2 separate regions of the Homo sapiens genome follow, and region 1 is linked to region 2. Evidence: promoter capture Hi-C in human tissues and cell types (Jung and others, 2019). All regions are on one chromosome and are shown on one strand. Each heading gives the region's core, a stretch centred on a gene start or on the middle of the fragment in contact. The rest is flanking DNA. Distances are from core to core; before and after follow the strand shown.

Region 1 (6,354 bases), core at 630-3,129, 180 kb before region 2:
TATGACAAATCTGAGGAGCTTTCTTGCTTCGTTTTCAGTTGCTGATGGGAAGGCAGAAAAGTACAATGGAAAGAGTATGGGCTCCAGGAAGTCAGCGCTACCACTGACTGGCTGTGTGATTTTTGGGCAAGTTCTTTAAACCTGTGAAGCCTTACTTTTCTCATCTGTTAAGTGGATTTTTTAAATTATTTTTATAATTTACAAGCAAGGTCTCGCTTTTGTTGCCCAGGATGGTCTCAAACTCCTGGGCTCAAGCGACCCTCCAACCTCAGCCTCCCAAAGTTAAATAGAATTGATGATACCGCCTTGCAAAGTTGTTTTGTAAAGTGCCAGACACATTGCAGATGCTCGGGAAACATGAGCTGGTTTATAATCAGTTTACAAGGAAAATTTTACTTTTGCCCAGTGAGATATAAGCAGAGGGAGGCTGACTTGGCTGGCAGAGGTACCCTTTTGTTTTTTTTTTTTTGTTTTTTGTTTTTTTTTGAGATGGAGTCTCACTCTGTTGCCCAGGCTGGAGTGCAGTGGCACAATCTAGGCTCACTGCAACCTCTGCCTCCTGGGTTCAAGCAATTTTCCTGTCTCAGCCTCTTGAGTAGCTAGGATTATAGGCATGTGCCACCATGTCTGGCTAATTTTTGTATTTTTAGTAGAGACAGGGTTTCACCATGTTGGCCAGGCTGGTCTCGAACTCCTGACCTTGTGATCTGCCCATCTCAGGCTCCCAAAGTGCTAGGATTACAGGCGTGAGCCACCACGCCCAGCCCAACCTTTTGCTGTTCTTTCTTCTAGCCTGCAATGTGAACACGATGGCTGGAGCTCCGGCAGCCATTCTGGACCAGGAGGTAGCCTTGAAGATGGAAGCCACATGTTGGGATGGTGAATCCAAAAGATGAGGAGCCTGTATCCCCTGTGACACCAGAACTGCCATACCAGCCCTGGGTTCCTCCATCTATACTGCCTTCATATGGTAAAGAAATATTCTTGGATCTTGTTAGGTGTCTGTTGCAGCCAAACACAATCCCAACTGATATTCACTGTAAATGATTCCATGGCTCCCTGTAGTACTTCTACAAAGCATCTATCACAATTGTAATTAATAAAATAATTATGCAATTACTGGTTTAATGCCTAAGTCCCAAGTAGAATATCAGTTCCATGGGGGCAGGGATTAGTCTGTTCATGGATGTATTCCCAGCTCCTGTAACAACATCTGGTTCTGGTAGGTGGTAAGTGCACAATAAATGTAGCAGAGTGAAAGGTTGAGAGGAAACGGAGCTGCTTCTGATGAGGAGAGAAATCACTGCATATCGATCGATCTCTATCTCAGACTCATTAATATGCATCTGGGTGTGCTGGATATTTTAATTCATGTTCTACCACACTCTAGATCTCCTATGGGATTTGCATCACAGATGGTACCTTTTCCTGAAGAGCCTTAAATTAACCTGCCTCCCTGGTAACACCCTCATTTGTCTCCCATTCCTGGCAAGTCAGCCATTCCCCCAAGAAGAGAGTTGCAACACGATCCAATAGTTTGCTGGAGGAGTGAAACTTATCAGCCCCACATCCAACATTGGTTGGGAGATGAGTCATGTCGATTTTTGATATTTAAAATTTTCTCATAAAAATTGGACTTGGCTTTTATAGAACATTTGAAAACAAAAAGATAAATTAAAAAATTCAAATCACGTACAATCCCAGGATCCAGAGATAGTCATGTGCAAGGAAAATATCTTGGGTCCCCCAAATCACTAAGCCAAAGGGAAAAATCAAGCTGGGAACTGCTCAGGGCAAACCTGCTTCCCATTCTATTCAAAGTCACCCTTCTGCTCACAGATAGATGTATATCTGATTGCATCCTTTGGAGAGGCTAATCAGAAACTCAAAGGAATGCAGCCATTTGTCTCTTACCTACCTATGACCTGGAAGCCCCTTCCCCGCTTCAAGTTGTCCTGCCTTTCCGGACCAATCAGTGTTCATCTTACATATGTTGGTTGATGTCTCATGACTCCCTAAAATGTATAAAACCAAAGTGTGCTCTGACCCACCTTGGGCACACGTTGTCAGGACCTCCTGAGGCTGTGTCATGGGCATGTGTCTTCAACCTTGGCAAAATACTTTTTTTTTTTTTTGAGATGGAGTCTCACCCTGTCGCCCAGGCTGGAGTGCAGTGGCGCAATCTCGGCTCACTGCAAGCTCCGCCTCCTGGGTTCAAGCTATTCTCCTGCCTCAGCCTCCCGAGTAGCTGGAAATATAGGTGCCCGCCACCACGCCCGGCTAATTTTTTTGTATTTTTAGTAGAGACGGGGTTTCACCGTGTTAGCCAGGGTGGTCTCGATCTCCTGACCTCGTGATCTGCCTGCCTCAGCCTCCCAAAGTGCTGGAATTACAGATGTGAGCCACCACGCCCGGCCCAACCTTGGCAAAATAAGCTTTCTAAATTAACTGAGAACTGTCTTAGATTTTTGGAGTTCAGAGTCACTATTCAATATTTTAGTATACAGTGTTTCTCTCCAATTTTTTGGGTAAGATTAGTATACCATTAGAATCAGCCAATTTGGATCTCTTACCTATTTCACTTAACATATTGCAAACATTATCTTGTGCTTTAAAATACTATTTAATTTTTAATGACTACATAATATTGCATTGTGTTATTTATCTAATTATTTCCTTATTGTTGTAATCAAAGTTTCATTCCAATTTTCTCTTACATAATTAACCATACGATGAATACCTTTATATGTAAAATATGCTGTTGCATTTATGATTATTTCCTCAGCATAGATTCCCAGAAGCAGTTACTAGGCAAGGGGCATGAACATTTAAAAAAACTCTTACTGGAAAATGACAAAATGCATTTCAAAAAGGTTGTTACTCTATTTAATTATAAATGCCTTTCCTGATTGATAGGCAAAAAACAAAAACAAAAACCTCCCCAAACATGACATCTTGATTTTTCACAAATGCTTCATTTGAGATCTGCCCAAGTTCTCTGTGCATTCTTCCACTGAGCTATTAGCATCGTTTGTTTATAAAAACATCTTATACACTGTGGATAGTAACCCTGTGATTACATTTGTTGAAAATTTTCTCTTCATAATTTCCCTTTCGAAAATTCTTTTTGATATAAAGATGTTTTAAAAATTTTATTTGGCCAGGCGTGGTGGCTCATGCCTGTAATCCCAACAATTTGGGAGGCCGAGGCAAGAGGACTGCTTGGGTCCAGGAGTTGGAGATCAGCCTGGGTAAACACAGTGAAATCTTGTCGCTACAAAAAATAAAAAAATTGGCTGGGTGTGATGGCACACACCTTTGCTCCCAGCTACTCAGGAGGCTGAGGTGGGAGCATCGCTTGAGCCCAGGAGGTCAAGGCTGCAGTGAGCCATGATTGCACCACTGTACTCCAGCCTGGGTGACAGTGTTTTGAGACCTTGTCTCAAAACAAACAAAAAACCCATATAATCCTACCACTTTGGGAGGTCCAGGAGGGAGAATCACTTGAGCCCAGGGGTTCAAGACCACCCTGGGCAACATGGCAACCCCTCAATCTTTACCAAAAAAAAAAAAATTAGCCTGGGCATAGTGGCAGGCACCTGTGGTCCCAGCTACTCAAGAGGCTGAGGTAGGAGGATCACTTGAGCCCAGGAAGGTTGAAGCTGCAGTGAGCTGTGATCACACTGCTGCACTCCAGCCTGGGTGACAGGGTGAGATCCTCAGAAAACAATTATTTGTATACAGTGTATTCATCTTGTACTTTATGATCTCTTAGCTTGCTGAAGTCTGATTAATCATGACCTTTCTTTTTTTGGAGACAGGGTTTATCAAGATGTAACACCATGTAAGTCAAGGTAAGCCTCAAACTTAAATACTATTTCCAGTGGTTCTAACATTAATAATTAAAGAACCCACTGCTTCATATATATACAATTTACTATAGATGCTCCTTGACTTATGATGGGTTATGTTCTGATAAATCCATTGTAAGTTGAAAATATCGTTAAGTCATAAGTGTATTTATTTATTTAGAGATGCAGTCTCGCTCTTTTACCCAGGCTGGAGTGCAGGGGTGTGACCTCGGCTTAGTGCAACCTCTGCCTCCTGGGTTAAGTGACTCTCCTGTCTCAGCCTCCCGAGTAGCTGGGACTACAGGCACATACCACCACACCAGGCTAATTTTTGTATTTTTAGTAGAGACGAGGTTTCACCATGTTGGCCACGCTGGCCTTGAACTTCTGACCTCAAGTGATTCACCCGCCTCGGCCTCCTAAAGTGCTGGGATTGCAGGTGTGAGCCACCTTGCCCAGCCCATAAATGTATTTAATACCATATACGTAACCTAGTAAACATCATAGCCTACCCGAAGCATGCTCAGAGCACTTACGTTAGCCTACAGTTGGGCAAAATCATCTAACACAAAGTCTATTTTATGAAGTGTTGGATAGCTCATGTAACTTATTGGTGATGGTACTGAAAGTGAAGGCAGAATAGTTGTGTGGGTACTCAAAGTACAGTTTCTACTGAATGCGTTATGTTTTCACACCATTGCAAAATGGAAAAATTGTAAGTTGAACTATCAAAAATTAGGGACCTGGGCAGGGCGTGGTGGCTCCCACCTGTAATCCCAGCACTTTGGGAGGCTGAGGCAGGCAGATTGCTTGAGTCCAGGAGTTTGAGACCAGCTTGGGTAACTTGCTGAAACCCCATGTCTACTAAAGACACACACACACACACACACACACACACACACACACAAACTAGTCAGGCATGGTAGCATGTGCCTGTGGTCCCAGCTCTTAGGAGGCTGAGGTGGGAGGATCACTGGGGAGGTGAAGCTTGCAGTGAGCCACTGAGCTCCAGCCTGGGTGACAGAGTGAGACCCTATCTCAATAAAAAATTTAAAAAAAGAAAATTGAAGATTGAATATATAAGAACATACTACATATGTATTTCCGGATGATTTATTCTGTTGCATTGATCTAGCTGTTAATAGAAATGGTTTTATTATCTGGAAGGGAATGTTGGTACACATATTTCCAAATACTTTTCAGAAAGGTTGTATCAATTTCTACCTGCCTCCTCCCAGCCCCCGCCCCCGCCTCGACTCTGCCCCCTTTCCACAATCTCACCAAAGCTGCAGGCATTTTCCTTGAAAGTCTTCACATCTTCAGAACACTCGGGCTCCCATCCTGCTCGCGCTACTAACTACAAGTGGCTGTTTAACATCGAGCAAACCTCACATTCTTTAAGCCTGGCTCTCTTCAGCTCAGTGGAAATAAGTGGTACTGCCCTTCTAAGATGGTTTGGGGGCTCAAATGAACCGTTTGTGACAGCACCTAGAAAAGTATAAACTTTCAATAACAAGGTTGGCAATCAGTAACTATTGCATTTTCATTAAAAAGAAACATGTCTTAAAAAAAAAAAAAGACACTCTTGCATAATTTTGAAGATCGGGCATGGAAATATGTCTTCAGCATGTTTGCAAGCCTGGATGCTGGGTGAGATTTCATCTTGCAGTGTTGCTCTAAATTAGAAAGACTCAATCCCATTTGCCCAAAGATTCGGAAGCTGCTGAATTAACTACAGATCCGTTATCTTCGAGGGCATCAGTACTTACGGGTCCACACTGGAAGGAGCTGCTCTTTAAACGTTGCAATCCTGGAATTTGGGGGGAGGAGATATTATTTCCTGATTAACTTCAGCTGCAGATGGTGAAAAATAAGAGCTAGATGGCCATAATCAGAAGGAAGAAGGGGCAGGCAGAGAGCAAAGGAGAAAATGGAACATTAAAAATGGGCAGCGGCTTGAGCAGCCCACCGATTCAAATGAGTCTGAGTTTTCTCAAGTGTCCATCAGGGTTTAGTGAAGAGACAGAAATCACATTAGTGAGTTAAACAGAAAGAATTTAATATAAAGAATTGTTGGCCAGGAGCAGTGGCTTGTGCCTGTAATCCTAGAATTTTGGGAGGCCCAGGCAAGAGACTATCCCTCAAGGCCAGGAGTTCGAGACCAGCCTTGGCAACAGACACCCCATCTCTGCGAAAAAAAAATTTTAATTAGCCAGGTGTGGTGGCGTGTATGGGTAGTCCTGGCCATTCAGAAGGCTGAGGTATGAAGATTCCGTACACCCAGGAGTTCAAGGTTGCAATGAGCTGTGATCGTACCACTGCACTGCAGCCTGGGCAACAGAGTGAGATCTCCTCTCAAACAAGAAAAAAGAATTTGTTACTTAGACATAAAGCTATTACCAGAGTAACTGAACAGGTAAAACTCGAAAGAATCATGGTGGTAGCAACTTTAGAGAGCTATGTCCATTCCTAGTGTGTCCAGAATTGGTGGGTTCTTGGTCTC
Region 2 (7,051 bases), core at 2,923-5,422:
ACACAGGTGTGATCTTGGAACTAAGCTCTCAGCCTGCTGACTCAGCAACTACACTGCAGGTCAGTAGTGGATTTGGGAACCTCCTGCTTCCCAGTCCTCTGCCTGGTCTTCTAGGCCAACAGTTTTACAACTTGGACACGCATCAGAATCACCTGGAGGGCCTGTGAAAACACATAACGCTGAGCCATACCCCCAGTTTCTGATTCAGTAGGTCTAGGGTGGGGCTGAGAATTTGCATTTTTAACTAGTTCCCAGGTGATGATGATGATGATGATGGTCCACGGACCACAGTTTGAGAACACTGTTCTAGGTGTTCTCTTTCAAAATAATGACTCCCTCTCTTCCCCTTAACGACTCCAAAGGTAACATAGGTTTGTAAAATACAACAAATATATAACATGTAGAACCTACAGAAAAATAGGAAGAATGGAATTCATCCACATTCTTCTGCTCAGAAATAACCACTCTTAACAGTTTGGCACATCTCCTCTGTCTTCTTTTCAGAGGCTAAGCACAGAGGAAGCGGGGTGGCCTATGGCTGCTCGGCTAAGACCCGGTTAAGATCCCAGTGCTTCCGTGAGACCTTGGGCAAGCCTGAACCAGGTCTGGGTCCCCTCTTCGGCAAAACTGCATTTACACTCCCATCCCGCATTAGTTTGTTGGGAGGGTTTAAAGAAGAGCGTGTATTTATCAAGCACTCGACACAATGTCAGATGCGGAGTCAGCGCTCCATAAATGTTGGCTGTCATTTTTGTTCTAACGTAAGAGAAAGCTGGATGATCCCATCTGGGTTTCAGCCCCGTTTTCCCTCTTCACTCCTCCGGTGGGTCAGTGGGAGCTCTGCCGACCGCCTGGCTGCGGCCACTCACTGCTGGGACTGCGCAGCCTGCCCGCTCCCAGCAGCTGGCGGAGCCGCAGGACCCCCGCGCCGCCCGGGCCGCCGCCGTTAGGGTTGGCTCAAGCCTCTCGGCCCAGTCCGCCAGTTTTACAGCCCGAACTCAAAGAGGGCTTTTAACTTTTCATTCAGCAGCAGCGTAGCTCCGACTTTTAATAACACACCTCGTGCACGACAAAAATTTGCTCCTGGCAATCATGGTTTCGACCACAAAACCACAGCGGGGAGGCGTTCCTGATTAACTCTTTCAGCGCTCCAGGCAGTCTGGAGCCGGCGCTCCTGGAGATCAGATAGAACGGCGGCGGCGGCCGCGGTCAGGACTGCGACGGTTCTAGTCCCCTTCCCCCAACCGAGTCGCGTCTCTGCGAGGCTGAGGGGAGACTCCAGGCGGCAGCGGTGGGGCCCAGAGAGCAGGGAGCGAGGCCGCGGGGGACGCTCCTGCCTCGGTGCCTTAGACCTACTGTGTGCCAAGCCCCTTTGCGGCGAAACTCTCCCTTCCTGGGCTGTCAACGGGGCCTGCCTGGAGCGCCGGCCGGCCCTCCAGAGGGGAACAACAGGTCACCGGGGAGGTCGCCTGCGGCTCCAGCTCCCCGGGGGCCCCGACGCACCTTCAGGAAAACCCGACGCTGGGCAGCTCGCGGGCGCCGGCTGTTTTCCTGCGAGACCCAGGCGGTCGGCGGCGACTTCCGGCGCCCTCGGCCGCAGCCCAGGATCCCTTGCGCCCTGCGGTAGCCCGGGGCTGCCCAGGGCTGCGGGCTCCAGGCACCCAGAGCGCTGCGACCACATGAAAGGCCCGGCGCTCAGCACCCGCCAGCCACCTCCAGCTGGTTTCTAACTACACCGCCGGGGCCTCCATGCTTCTCAGAGACCAGCCTTCGAAGTGCCGCCTTACACCCGGGGCCTGGCCACCGGGCGGGCGCGGATGGAGCTCTGGTCCACATTTGGGAGCTCACAGTTGTTCCTGCCAGGTAGGTGTTACAGACAGATGAGCAGACTGAGGGTCAGGGAGGACAAACAAATTCACCAGGATCCTGCTGTTGGTAAGTGGCAGAATTTAGAGTGACAGGCAAGTCCCACTTTTGCCACTATATCAAGGCCTGGCCAGAGTTGGCCATTCCATGAGGGCCCAAGCTGTAAGCTATGGCCAGTCCTCTTAACTTGGCACTTTTTAGGAGAATGTCGAGGCCGCAGAAGCAACAGCAGCTCAGAACTTGCAAGCCAAGCGCCGGGTGCCCTCCCCTTACCAGTAGGGGCAGCTGAGCCCCCAGGCTCTGCCACTGTAATCTCAAATGGTGGCTTGGAGTCCGCCTGCAATTACTCAGCAGGCAACTGGCTTCCCTCACCCCACCCCAAACTGAGAAGCCTCAACTGTCAGCGGATCTGACTTCAAATCCAAACCATTAGGGAGGAGAAAAGCAAGAAACCTTTCTGTTCAAGTAACCCAGCTTCAGAACACATACCCCCTAACGTGCAGTAATGAATAGATTCTGTCTGTAGCCTCCGCAGTTTTAGCCAGCAAATTTAAGTGGGATGGAGACACATGTCAAGATTTTTTTGCGCGTTCAAAGTATGGAAAAATAGCAAGAGGTTTGGGAATGCTCATTGATTGGTTAGTTCTACATGAAATGACAATGGTGTTACTGGTGTGTTCTCCACCAGCCTTAAAAGCAATCACTATTCTAAAATTGTCAAATCCTCTAACAACCCCATGAGGTGGATACTACTGTTGGCCACTATTTACAGATGAGGATTAAGGGACTTGCTCAACATCACACAGCTATAAGTGCTAGAGCTGGGACTTGAACCCAGGTGTCAGTACCAATGCTCCTGCTCTTATTCTCATTGCGGTCCAATTGTCAATACATTGTCAACCCCGGGAAATTCATTCAAAAGAAATGTGCCTGTTAACCCAAGTGATTGTGCTGTGAACATGAAGAGCTGAAGGGCTAGCTAGAACATAGAATCCGGTCTGCAGTCAGGACCTAGCACTGCTGTCTGCCCACAGATCTTCAAGTTCTTAAAAGTCTGTTGAGGAGCAGTTAGAAAAAAGATGGTACAATCCTTGCCTCTGCCCACTCACCTCTGAGGGTGGCAGGAAAAGGAGAGCCTGTGTTTAAAGGATTCTGGCTTCTCCTGCCAGCTCCCTGAACCCAATCTAAAGCAGCCCAGATCCCAGCCTCACCCTACCTTCTCTAAGGTCTGGACCCCAAGAAGGACATCATGGTGAAGATCAGCATCAGTCAGTCAGGATCTTAAATCTCAGATGTGGGCAGGAAGGCACATGCATCCTCCCAGCCAAAAGAGGTGACCTACCAAAAATCACTTCTCATCTTCCCCAGCCTTAGAACTGCCTCTGAATGAGAGGAACCACATTTTACTGAACGCATCTTCAGACCATAGCTTTATGCTAAGCATTTTACAGCATTTATCACACTTAACTCTTTCCAGAATTCTACAAAGCATTCTTGTACCCATTTTCCAGATGAGGAAAATGAAGCCCAGAAAAATTGAATGTCTTGTCTGAGATCACCCAGGGACAGAGCCTGGATTTGAACTTAGGTCAAGCCCACTACAAAGAGTACACATGCTTAACCACCACACTGTAACCTTCCCACTTGGGACTGTTCCAACCCAGCAAACAAGTCCCTTTAGAGAAACCCAACTCTCTGCCTAAGACAGCTCTTAGAACTACCTTAAAGAAGTTCCTTTTGGCAAGAAGATAGAAAGCCTCGATGGGATTGGGGTCGTCTGATTTCCAAGGCCCCTTCAGAGGATCAAAAAGTGGTGCCAGAAACCTTCACAGTTTCAGTCTTGTGTTTCCCTGCCTGGCTCGAAACTGCTCAGCAAAGAGAATGAGAAAAACTATTTTCCCAGGGAAACACTCACCTCTAGCTTGAGACTGGGGCTTGCCTTGACACGCCAAAGTAAGATCGTCAGCCCATTCATTTACCCTTACAAATTGCTCTGTGAATCCCGGTGCCGGCCTCCCCGCTCTTCCCCCTCCAGGAAACCCCATCCAGCCTCCACGCTCTGAGAGCGGCAGGTATCCACCGATGTTTACTCACTCAAGTTCATTCGACATCTTCCTGCTCCCAAGCTCCGACGATCAGCACTGAGGCTCTGCTGACCGCTTGTCTCTAATTCTTGCCTGACACAGACATTCTCTGCCCGGGAAAGTGTTTGATTTATGTTGAGGTTTGGGTGTCGAGATTTTGCTGACAGGTAGGTTCCCAGCAGCGCTGGCGCTGATTGGCTACAGGTACAGGTGCCGGCGACTGGAGGTATACCTCAACAGGTGCAGCTGTTAACTCTTAGCCCGCCGAGGAGGGCGGAGCTATGGGGGACTGGCTGGGTGGAGCTGGCCAATTCCTTCCTTGGTGAGGGGGTGGGGGGTGGAGATGAGGGAGGAGGGATGGAGAAGAAAATGTTGGAAAGAAGCAAGATAACTAGAGGAAAAGTACAGGGACAAACAGATAACTTGGCTTAAAGGAAAACTTGATTCCTGTTTCTAGTCATTGTCCCAGATACCCAGAAACATCCCCACCCCCAAATTTCTTTGCCCCCTCCTTCTGTACCACTGGGGAATTCTCAAAGGAGAGAGCAACTTTTCCCAGGTAGATCTTTGTATAAGTTCCCTTTTTTTCAGTTTCCCCTTTAAGGTAATATTTTTGAATAATCTTTTGCAGTTACTCAAGTGACTTCTTTTGGTTCTTAAAGTAACCTACCGTGGTAGATTTATTATCGCTTCCCCCTTCCTCTTCAACACATATTTTACAGATGAGGGAGGAAATGGAGGCCAGAGAGGCAAAGTGCCTTGCCCAAGGGCACAGCTAGCGAGGTCCCAGCCCAGATCCAATCTGCAGTCATCTCACTCCAAGTCTGGCTGCCCCTTGGGCTGAAGTCAGTGGCCTCAATTCAGTAGACATTCATTGAGCACCCGTTGTGTGCCAGACCCTACTCTGGGTTCTGGAGAAACTGAGGCCAGAAAAAACAGGGGTTACTGTTCTAAAGGAGTTTACAATCTGGGGGGTGTGTGTTGGTGGCAGGGGGTGGGGGAGTAAAGGAGAACAGGCTTTTATTGGGTGTGAAGGGGGTGTGGGCAAGCCACATACCTCTGGTCAGCACAGAAGGGATAGAAAAGTTGAAGGCTCCTCTGAAGCCTCAGCCAGCTGGTCATTTCACAGGCTCCAAGTGCTTCGTTCTGTATTGGGAACTTGGGAGAAATTCAATGCCTGTCAGATGAAGTAATTGTGGAGTAATTGCTGTGAGCTGTCTACTATAAAGAACAAGCTTGGTAAACCCCAGAATATCCACAAACACAAACAGGAGAATGTAAGAGCTTTTTAAAGAGCTTCTTCCAGGATTAGTTTGAAATTAAATCTAAGCCAGAGATCTTGGCATCTTTTTTTCCCTCTCTCTCTTTCTATTCTCCCCTCCCCCACCCTTCCCCTTTTGGCAAATTATCTCTTTGCTGTGTCTTCCTGGAAACCTCAACTTGGCCCACTCCTCTCTCTCTTCTCTGGGAACGGCAAGTGAGGTTTCAGCTACCCCTGCCAATTTATGGAGGTTTTTCAGGGTAAAGTCAGAATTCAAAGGAGCCCTCTTGGGGTGGGGTCAGGGCTCTGGAGAGGGGGTACTGGGTTTGAGAACTCTCAGAGATTGGTTTCTCCCTGGAGGCTGTGTTGGGGGAAGCCCAGGGGACCCTAATAAATAATAGTAAATAATTGCTAATAAAGCCACCTCCTCAGAGCAGCCCTCTTCAGTCACCCTTGTTAATAAAGTAGACATTCAATCACTCTGGATCACACTACTTTTTGTTCTCTGCAGAGCCCTTATGACTTATGATACAATGTAATATGACCTATGATATTTTTCTAATCGTTTATTGTCTTTCTCCCCTTCCTCTGGAATGTAAATTCCATAAGAGCAAAGACTTTGTGTCGCTCACTGTGGAATCTCCAGTGTCTGGCACCTAGTAGGTGCTTCATATACCACAGGCACCGGGCATTGTGCGCCTTTGCATACATTGTGTCGCCTAATCCTTACAGCAACCCTGGGAGATAGACATTTTTGATACCCCCATTTTATAGATGAGGAAACTGAGGTACAGAATACTGAAGTAAACTACTCAAGCTGCAGAGCTAGGCAGTGGTAGAGCTAGAGCTGGGATTTAATCCGAGAGCAGAGCCTGGGTGCCCAACCACTTCACAGAGCTTATTGGTGGCTGAAGGGCTATTTGGTGCCAACTGTAACTGCAAAGCTTATTGCAGTCCAAAGGATGGCACACTCCTCTGTATGTACCTGTCTGCCCACCTCATGGAAGGCTGTGGAGTTTCTGTCAACCGTGTTGCAACCCACAGGTGAAGGGCTGTGGGGTGACTCATGCTGACTGGGCTCAGGGGAGGCTGGGATTCCAGGTGGCGTGTCTGTGCTCGCTGGGGTTTTAAAAATGGGTCCTCTCCCTCTGCCTCTAGGTTTTGCCTCTTTCATCACCCGCACCCATCTTCAGAGATCAGCAGAGACCCAAATCACAGGGCAGAGGGTTTCTACGTCTCCACACACAGGAAGGCTACAGAAGTGTCCCGGATGGGATAGAAGGACCGGTGGTCTGGGCTAGGTAGGCAGGAACGCCATGAGCCAGTTTGCAAGGTCACCAGGCCCCTCAGTAGGAATTATACCTCCCAGGCAGGAGGTACAAGTGCTTTCTAGGCCTTCATCCCAACAACCCAGAGATGCCAGGCCTTTAAAGAGACACTCCCCGTGCTTTGCTGCTGCCCCCTTCCTGCTCCTGTGGGGCTGAGCAAGGCTGGCACCTACTTCCCCTTCATGGATCAGCACAGCTCTTGGTTCCTCTGCAGAGGAGATTTAAAACAGAACAGCTATTCCAAAAAAAAAAAAAAAAAACAAAGTTTAAAAAAACATAAACAGAGACCAGCCAATTACTTGTAACATAATAATTATATCCACAATAATGACAGTAAATAATGAGGGCTGCTGTTTAGTTAGCGTTTGTATTTTGCAAGCACTGTGCTAAGACTTACCTATGTGTTAGGATAGTATTGTTCTGAGACTCACAGGCCTCCTTTCAAATCTCAGCCCAACTAGCTACATGATGTCGGGCAAGTGGCTACAGCTCTTTGAGCCTCAGTTTCCTCA

Evidence for each region. The method cuts DNA at HindIII sites, captures the fragments that hold promoters and counts their contacts. A contact is called where the count stands out against the background at its distance.
Region 1: a fragment that was not itself captured here is called in contact with the fragment with the promoter of GRHL3 in region 2 in 1 of the 25 tissues and cell types used here (thymus).

Annotation. Positions count from the first base shown.
Region 1 is chr1:24,491,035-24,497,388 of GRCh38, reverse strand. RCAN3AS (RCAN3 antisense RNA) reads left to right here. Exons shown (of 2, transcript NR_144360.1): 2 at 793-1,135. Among named protein-coding and RNA genes, the nearest start is that of RCAN3AS, 8.2 kb to the left of the region's middle. The HindIII fragment of the contact is 3,516 bases long and covers 122-3,637 here.
Region 2 is chr1:24,316,478-24,323,528 of GRCh38, reverse strand. GRHL3 (grainyhead like transcription factor 3) reads right to left here and starts at 4,172. Exons shown (of 16, transcript NM_198173.3): 1 at 3,961-4,172. The coding sequence starts at 3,977. GRHL3-AS1 (GRHL3 antisense RNA 1) reads left to right here and starts at 1,538. Exons shown (of 2, transcript NR_183722.1): 1 at 1,538-1,863. RefSeq lists enhancers at 399-914, 915-1,432 and a silencer at 1,500-1,639. The HindIII fragment of the contact is 14,571 bases long and covers 1-5,670 here.